Linked DNA regions of Homo sapiens: region 2 is linked to region 1. Evidence: promoter capture Hi-C in 16 types of primary human blood cells and fetal thymus (Javierre and others, 2016). All regions are on one chromosome and are shown on one strand. The core of a region is centred on a gene start or on the middle of the fragment in contact, and the rest is flanking DNA. Distances in the headings are between cores, read along the strand shown. Region 1 holds the start of NSMCE3 (NSE3 component of SMC5/6 complex). Region 2 holds the start of LOC124903451 (a long non-coding RNA gene).

Region 1 (4,270 bases), core at 1,540-4,039:
TCTAGCATGAGGTTGTCTTCCTAGCCTGTTGGAATGGCCGCCCCGCAGACTGCAACCCTTTATGAGAAATAAAGCTCTTTCCAAATTTATGAACCTCGTCATCCTTCAGTTGACACTAACAATAAAGTAGAACAAATATAGTGTAATAAGTTATATTGTGGTTTCTCTTTGAAAATATCCTAATATTTTCGGACTGTGGTTGACTGCAGGTAACTGAAACCACAGAAAGTAAAACTGCAGACATGGAGATGGAGCAGCAACTACTATAATCATTGGCTGTTGTCGGTTATATTTATTGTTACTAATGTTAGTATTGTTATCACCACAGTTTCTCCCCAGACATCCATGGCTTCCAGTATCAATCCAAGGTGGAATGTGGGTCTGGATGACTTCTCCATGCAGGGCCTAAAACTTCATTCTAATACTCTTATTTTATGTCTGCATTTTCTCACCTGCATTCTTCTGGAAAGAGTGTAGAGAGATGTTTTGAGACTTAAAAACTGGTATCTCTTCTCCTCTATCTTGAGTAATGACAGTCTGCTATCTAGGTAAGCGTGCTGCTGGAGGACACTGCTGATTTTCACAGTGACAGGGGTAGTCTGACTGGTGGGCTGCTTGGTAACGTACATGAATACCTTAGCAAGAAAGAGCACTGAAAAACCAGCCCAACTGTTGACAATAGCTTTTATCTAATTTTCCACTTTCCCCTTATATCTCGGTCACTGAACTTTTTTGACTCAAGGCACTGTAGCAGGACGAGCCGCAGACAAAATCTCTCAGACACCGAGTTGCACAAGGAAGGGCTTTATTCAGCTGGGAGCATCGGCAAGCTACTGCCTTAAAATCCGAGCTCCCCAAATGCACAATTTCTGTCCCTTTAAAGAGCTCACAACACTAAAGATTTTACATGAAAGGGTCGTGATTGATCAGAGCAAGCAGGCGGTATGTGACAGGGGCTACATGCACCGGTGGTCAGAGAGAAACAGAACAGGGCAGTTCTGTTCTTTATACAATGTTCTTCTATACAATGTCTGGAATCTATGAATAACATCGGTTTCTAAGTTATGAGTTGATTTTTAACTACTGGGTTTAGGCCAGGCAGGCCCAGGCCTGGTTTTGGGCCTGGCGCTGGGCTGCCTGTATTTGGTTTTACTTCCTTGTTGTTTTTTCTTAAAACAGGTACTGAGTATAAAACAATATAAAACAATATGAGACGGTCTCTCTATTCCCTCAATACAACATCCACATCCTGCAGTAGGGACCTTTTGCAGAATTCTAGATGGCAGGAAGCTTCTATGAACCTAAGTCCAGATTTTAATTTGCAAGGAAACTGAAGCAGATGAATTTTCTCATTGTAAAAAAATGAATGCCTTGATAATATATTTGTTTTTCATAGTAGGCCTTTGTCATTAAAATTGATGCCTGAGGATATAGTTGCATCTTGTGTGGAACAGTAAGTTATTACTCATTGCATACCAGATTTTAGCATACTTGCATTAGTTCATGGAATATGATTTTACATTTACTATTGCAGTTCCAGTGCCATTATCAGATTGCATTTTCCTACTGAATTACAAACAAAAGTGTTATGCTACTAACAATTAACAAAATTTTAATAAGGTTGTGTTTGATGCTATTACTCAGATAATGTGTTCTAAATTGCTTTCCTTTGAATATATTTGCATTAAAGAGGAACTCAATTTGGTTCTTTGAAGAGTTTATCCACTTTCTGGGTAGCTTTAAAAAGACACAGGGAAATTCAGTTTCTTCTTTGCAAGTAAATAGAGAAGAAACAAATTTGCTAAGATCTGTAGAAGTCATGGCAGCAGACTGCTGATGGTTTGAGTTAATGAAATGACTCATTTTGGCTACTTGAGTTGCACAATTAAAATATACAGTAGAGACTGTATATCACATCATAGATGAGAGATAAATCCCCCAGTGTTCTCTTTTTTTTCCTCAAAGCTAATATATTATGAATTAAGAAATTTAAGAGCTCCACATTATTGCAATTCTTGATCAGTGATGCCCCAAATTAAGTAGTAATCTCTTGAGAGTGCACGTTTGTTTGCAGCATTCCTCTTACCCATTTCTGCTAAAATTGTGGTTGTGACGAAAGCAGTTGTTTTCCAAAAGATAAACCCATGTGACCAAGCTAAAACATTTACCTAATACTGACACGTTTTTTGTGGTCTTCTCATAGTTGTCTAGCTAAAGGAGTTTAATGCAGAGAATATAAATACGGAAATAGTGAAACTGAAGTCCTGCTTGCGCAGAAAGCCTGCAGCCGACTTTGGTTTTTAACAGACTCCACGGGGCATTAGAGAAAGTAACTGGGGGCAGTGGGATGGAGGGTATGAAATTGGGTGGAGGGACGAAAACTAAGAGCCCTCTGGGTCTTTTATGTCCTTCTACATTTTGTGTAGAAATAAATGTTTTTACTTTACTTCCACGGTCGGCCCTTCCTCTTCACCTTTTTTTTTTCTCACACGTTCATCCTCTGAATTCTTTCCGTTTACAAATGCTCCCGATTTAGAAACTCATAATACTGTCTGTAAAACTTGCCTGAGCCTGTGTGGTCTGAATTTAGCGACACACTTGTTTAGGAGTTTCGGTTCTCGCTCTCTGTTTGCATGGTTTGGTAACAACACTTCACTATACTAAAAATCATCGCCCGGACCTGCAGGGCTGCACGGAAAACGCTGTTCCTTTTGGTACCCGCCGCAGCCGCGCAGGCGCACCGCCCAGCCGCCCTGACGCAAGGCGCAGGCTTCATGACGCAGCACGCAGTCTCAGCCGACACTGCGCGCGCCTCCAGGCACCGGCGTTAGCGGGTCGCCGACCCGCAATCCCCGCCGCGGCTGCTTGCCTACCGGAGTGTGCGCCGGCACCTGCCGCCGGAGACATGTTGCAAAAACCGAGGAACCGGGGCCGCTCTGGCGGCCAGGCCGAGAGGGACAGAGACTGGAGCCATAGCGGAAACCCCGGGGCTTCGCGGGCCGGGGAAGACGCCCGGGTTCTCAGAGACGGCTTTGCCGAGGAGGCCCCGAGCACGTCCCGCGGGCCGGGCGGCTCGCAGGGGTCGCAGGGCCCCTCGCCTCAGGGCGCCCGCCGGGCCCAGGCCGCCCCCGCCGTGGGGCCCAGGAGCCAGAAGCAGCTGGAGCTGAAAGTGTCCGAGCTGGTGCAGTTCTTGCTGATTAAAGACCAGAAGAAGATTCCGATCAAGCGGGCCGACATACTGAAGCACGTCATCGGGGACTACAAGGACATCTTCCCCGACCTCTTCAAACGGGCCGCCGAGCGCCTCCAGTACGTCTTCGGGTATAAGCTGGTGGAACTTGAACCCAAGAGCAACACTTACATCCTCATCAACACCCTGGAGCCTGTGGAGGAGGATGCCGAGATGAGGGGTGACCAAGGCACGCCCACTACGGGCCTCCTGATGATCGTCTTAGGGCTCATCTTTATGAAGGGCAACACCATCAAGGAAACTGAAGCCTGGGACTTTCTGCGGCGCTTAGGGGTCTACCCCACCAAGAAGCATTTAATTTTCGGAGATCCAAAGAAACTCATTACTGAGGACTTTGTGCGACAGCGTTACCTGGAATACCGGCGGATACCCCACACCGACCCCGTCGACTACGAATTCCAGTGGGGCCCGCGAACCAACCTGGAAACCAGCAAGATGAAAGTTCTTAAGTTTGTGGCCAAGGTCCATAATCAAGACCCCAAGGACTGGCCAGCGCAGTACTGTGAGGCTTTGGCAGATGAGGAGAACAGGGCCAGACCTCAGCCTAGTGGCCCAGCTCCATCCTCTTGAAAGGTGGATTCAGAGGGACCCCCGGGACAAGGGTCTGAGACCCAAAGGCACAGTTTAGAGGATTGGGGGAAGGGAGAACGAACCCAGGGAGCATATTGCTGTAAACGCTTCAATGTGTGTAGCTTTAGGATGTGTTTGCAAAGTTTTGTTTTTTTAATGTTGTGTTATTTTGCTCCAGATTTTCATCTATAAACAAAGGAGCATTTGTTTTGATTTTACTCTTTTTGGTATAAAAAATTTTGCTAGCTTAGTAAAACGAATTGGAAAACTTGACTATGATCTGGAACAGATAATGCAAGAAGGAACACATAAGTAAGTTGCTTTGGTGCCAAGAAAATAAAAAAGCTATTATCAGGTCTCCTAACTACCCCAGTTTGTAAGGAAAAATAAAAGTTTTTATAAAATTAAAAAAAATAATTGCCTATATCCTTATTATGTTAACCTATTTTA
Region 2 (4,323 bases), core at 432-2,931, 560 kb before region 1:
TAGAAATACACTCTCTAGTTAGGCTTAGATCATGGTATTCCTGGGTAATTATAGGAATGGGAATGCAGTGGATGTTGTTCTGTTGGACTTTAAAAAATATATCAATTGCATGAATCTTTTACAGAAGGACTGTATGCCAGTATTACTTGTGAAATTAAAGTGGGGAGGGGGAAGAATGCCAAAAGACCTGGGCATGCATTCACAACAGAAAGACCTAGTTGTGGCAGACGACTCTTGAGAAGCTTGTCACAAACTGACAGAACAGTATCTGCAGGAAGAGGTGGACTCAGAGCTGCCTCTATAATCTAGGGGCCCTTTGTTTCAAAGGGAGGAAAAAAGTGTCATTAAAGGTACACCTAAAGCTTTTTCTTTTCTTCCAGGGTTTCCATCCTGACTTGTCATGTTTTTTATGCACTATTTCATGTTCAGAGTAAAGAACAATTAAAAATGTGAATTATCAGCATGAATTTTACTGTTTATATTGTGCAACACCAGTTTTAAATGCAAATTTCAGAATATTTAACTCATGTGGAGTCACTGAAATTACACAGTTTATATTCTGTGGCTTGTCCCTGGAGGATGCCTCAAGCCGGCTAGAAGAGACTGAACACAGCCAGACTCGGGAAGGCTGGAAGGAGGGAGAGGATCCCATCCCCAGGCAGGGAAACAGCCCAGAGAACACTCTGGCCCTGGGGCCCTAGAGGATTAGGGGTGGGTAATCAGAGCAAGTACAGACGGTCAGAGGGCCCTGGGGTCCCACTAATGTGTGCTGGGCCTGATAGCTTGCTGTGATGACATTCATGCAAACCTCCTGACCTGAATGCCCTGCTGGGGACAGGGTTTGGGGACTTTGAGCCACGGGCCTATTGCTCCAACCCACAGCAGATGGTAACCACCAAGGATCCTTAAACCTCCATGACTGGATCTGGAATCCGGGCTGGGCCAAAGGCTCACCCTCACCAAGAGATTGCCTCCAGCCAGGCAGCCACCAGACAGAAAGTGACACTGCCCGTTTGGGGCTTTTGTGCACTCAAGATGCTGTGGGTATGCATACTTAAACCCCACACCTTGCTTGGATCCCTTTCAGCAGTGGCAGTGGAGCAGAGTGGGAGAGGACCAGCAGGGGTATCAAGAGCTGTGGGAGCGGGCAGCCCAGATACCCTCCTAGGAGGCGACAGGACCCTGTGAGAGCAGAGGCCCCAGTCCCCAGTGTGTGCCTCATTTTCCCATTGACCTTCACTTACAAAACACACATCCAAAACGAAAGTCCTTACAATTCAAGACAGCAACCACATTAAACCCCAACTGCAAGCCCTTCTGCCCTAGGGTCTTGTATACCTGCAGTAGTGCACACCTTGGTAGGTAGCCTGGGGAGCCCTGACTGTGTTTAAGATGGGAAACACTAGAAGACGCTTGAATTCTCAGAGGTAGAATTCATTAGCTAAGGACAGGATGAAGATGATACAGAAAGAGGACACAGCTGAGAGGGTCAGCCCCCCAAGATGGAATTCATAACCCTTGGGGGGAAGATGGAGAGGAAAAGCGGATGCCCAGGGTAGACTTGTCAGTGTTTTGGCAGGAAGGGAAGGGAGTTTCTATTCCTTAATGTCTGTTTTCTCTATGGATTATGAGATGAGATGTTTTGCCTGGGCTGGGGAGGGAGTCTTAAAGGAATCATAGGAAAGTGTAGATCAGAGTGGAGAAGCTGTGAAGAATGGAGGACAAACCGCTAAGGGATGAGCCAGAGGCCTGTATGCCAGCCTGCCTGGATTCCAGTCATGGATTTATGGAGCTTCCGACCTGCCTGGTTGTGCAATATTTGGGACCCTGAAAAAAGAAAACTCCACCTTAGCCCCAGTCAGAGGTAAGGGTAGCCCCATAGGAGGAATTCTTTCGAGGAATAACTTTCTGTATACTGAATTGAATTTAAAAAGACTTGTTTTTTAGTGTTTATGTCTTCTTTTTAAAAAAAAAAAAATGAAATGGTGTTGGTAATAGCTTTCTTTTTGTATTTCTAAACTGTGGTAATATGTACATAATATAAAATTTGCCATTTTAATTATCTTTACATATACAGTTTATAATGTTTGTTTTAAAATGTTTTTACTTTATAAGATTAAAAAGTTGGTACTCCTATATTGCACCTCTAAGATCGTTTTAAAATTTTTACTGGTCTATGAAATTTAGAAACATTATGAGCCTTAAAAGAATCTTTCCCCCATTTAACATTGTTACATGACTTTATTGGCAGAGGAAAATTCTGTAACAATTTGTAGAATCTTTAATGGTATGGCATAGGAGTGGAATCAGGATTACTTTTGGTTGTTATAACATCTTGATAAAGTGCTTCTCCTTCTAATATTTTGTATATATTCTCTTCTCTGACATTATCGAGATTGTCTAATGCTTCACTACCGTAAATAAATACTTCCTCTTTGTCAAGCGTAAACTCACAGTTCATATAAAAATAACATAAATATGCTTTCCTAAGGATCTTTTTTGCAATTAAAACCATACATATACATATATACAAATTAGGTGTGGATATAGTTGTTCATTTGGTCAAGGCTGTTTTATTAAGTAGTTCTATCTAAAATGTGTAAAGATTTTGCACACATAATGCTTTTTTCATTCTGAGCCGCAGACACCAAAAATCCCACAGGAAGTTGTCTTTTAAGTGTTGTGGTTTTTTAGTTTCCTGTTCAGTTGCAGAGATGATCAGAAATAAGATAAATCTGTACAATCGAAAGAGATTTGTGGTTAAACATTATAGTAACTCTAAATGAGAATCCTTAATTAACTTGTATTTCTTCCCATATTGATCTAGAGGAGCTATGATGACATGCGTGTGTAAGCATAAAAGTCAGAAAATACTTTTTTGGTGTTCCATGGATAAACTCTTTAATTGTTAAATGGGTGATTCTTTCAGATTATTCTTTATACTTTCCACTTGTTGTCAAAGCACCTACCTAAAAAATAAACTGCAGGAATAAAGCTTTGTTTTTAATTGTTGGCAACAGTTTTACCTTTATTTTACAGATGATAAAAGCCTTCTCTTGTTTATTTAAAGAACAGACTTTATGAAGTTTAATTTAGATATTAAAAATACCACTGAAAAATTTTAAAGTGATACTATTAGTCACTGAAATACTAAATATAATTTTTAAAGAATAATATTTTCAAGATGAAATATTTTTGTTTGATTTCATTTTTTAAACCATGGCAAAGATAAAACTGTTAAATATATAACTATTTTTAATTAGTGACAAATAGTTGCAATCTAGCATTTAAATTACACATTGGGCAACTTGTAAAAGTGACAAATAAGGAAAAGTGAAAAATGTCAGTGCATTTGTAGATAGTGTCTCTAGATTTAGGTGCTATTAAAGACACCACACCTAGTTCTAGGCAGCTTATGCAATTGCACATCTTCTTAAATGGTAAAGATAATGTGAAAGGTCTTTCATCACCACCTTTTAAAATTAAAAAATACTTCCCAAACCTTTTTAAATGGTGTTTGCATATGAAGAAATTTAATCACAATTTTTTTTTTTTAATGGGGTCTCACTGTTTCCCAGGCTGGTCTCAAACTCCTGGCCTCAAAGAATCCTCTGGTCTTGGCCTCCCAAAGTGCTGGGATGATGATGATGATGATGATGATGATGATGATGATTTGAGACGGAGTTTCGCTCTTGTTGCCCAGGCTGGAGTGCAATGGCATGATCTCAGCTCATTGCAACCTCCGCCTCTCGGGTTCAAGCGATTCTCCTGCCTCAGCCTCCTGAATAGCTGGCATTACTGGCGTCTGTCACCATGCCCGGCTACTTTCCTATTTTTAGTAGAGATGGGGTTTCACCATGTCGGCCAGGCTGGTTTCGAACTCCTGACCTCAAGTGATCTGCCTGCCTTGGCCTCTCAAGTGCTGGGATTACAGGCTTGAGCCACTGCGCACGGCCCCAAGTGCTGGGATTATAAACGTGAGCAACTACGCCTGGCCACCATTTTTTTTTTTTTTTTTTTTTTTTTTTTTTTTTTTTGAGACAGAGTCTTGCTGGTTGCCCAGGCTGGAGTACAGTGGCACGATCTGGACTCACTGCAACCTCCGCCTCCTGGGTTCAAGTGATTCTTCTGCCTCAGCCTCCCGAGTAGCTGGGACTACAGGCACGCGCCACACCAGGCTAATTTTTGTATTTTTAATAAAGACGGAGTTTCACCATATTGGCCAGGCTGGTCTCAAACTCCTGACCTCGTGATCCGCTCGCCTCGGCCTCCCAAAGTGCTGGGATTACAGGCGTGAGCCACCACGCCTGGCCCACAATTCTT

Evidence for each region. The method cuts DNA at HindIII sites, captures the fragments that hold promoters and counts their contacts. A CHiCAGO score of 5 or more calls a contact.
Region 2: a contact is called between a fragment that was not itself captured here and the fragment with the promoter of NSMCE3 in region 1, in 6 of 17 cell types (non-activated CD4 T cells, naive CD4 T cells, total CD4 T cells and 3 more). The highest score is 8.1, in non-activated CD4 T cells.

Annotation. Positions count from the first base shown.
Region 1 is chr15:29,268,341-29,272,610 of GRCh38, reverse strand. It overlaps NSMCE3 (NSE3 component of SMC5/6 complex), which reads left to right and starts at 2,789. Exons shown (of 1, transcript NM_138704.4): 1 at 2,789-4,270. The coding sequence starts at 2,906. The coding sequence ends at 3,820. The region is part of intron 2 of ENTREP2 (endosomal transmembrane epsin interactor 2); the gene reads left to right. RefSeq lists enhancers at 2,493-2,992, 2,993-3,494. The HindIII fragment of the contact is 8,019 bases long and covers 1,293-4,270 here.
Region 2 is chr15:29,823,796-29,828,118 of GRCh38, reverse strand. LOC124903451 (a long non-coding RNA gene) reads right to left here and starts at 3,611. Exons shown (of 2, transcript XR_007064546.1): 1 at 3,503-3,611; 2 at 2,222-2,735. It also overlaps a transcript of TJP1 not described here. The HindIII fragment of the contact is 2,633 bases long and covers 365-2,997 here.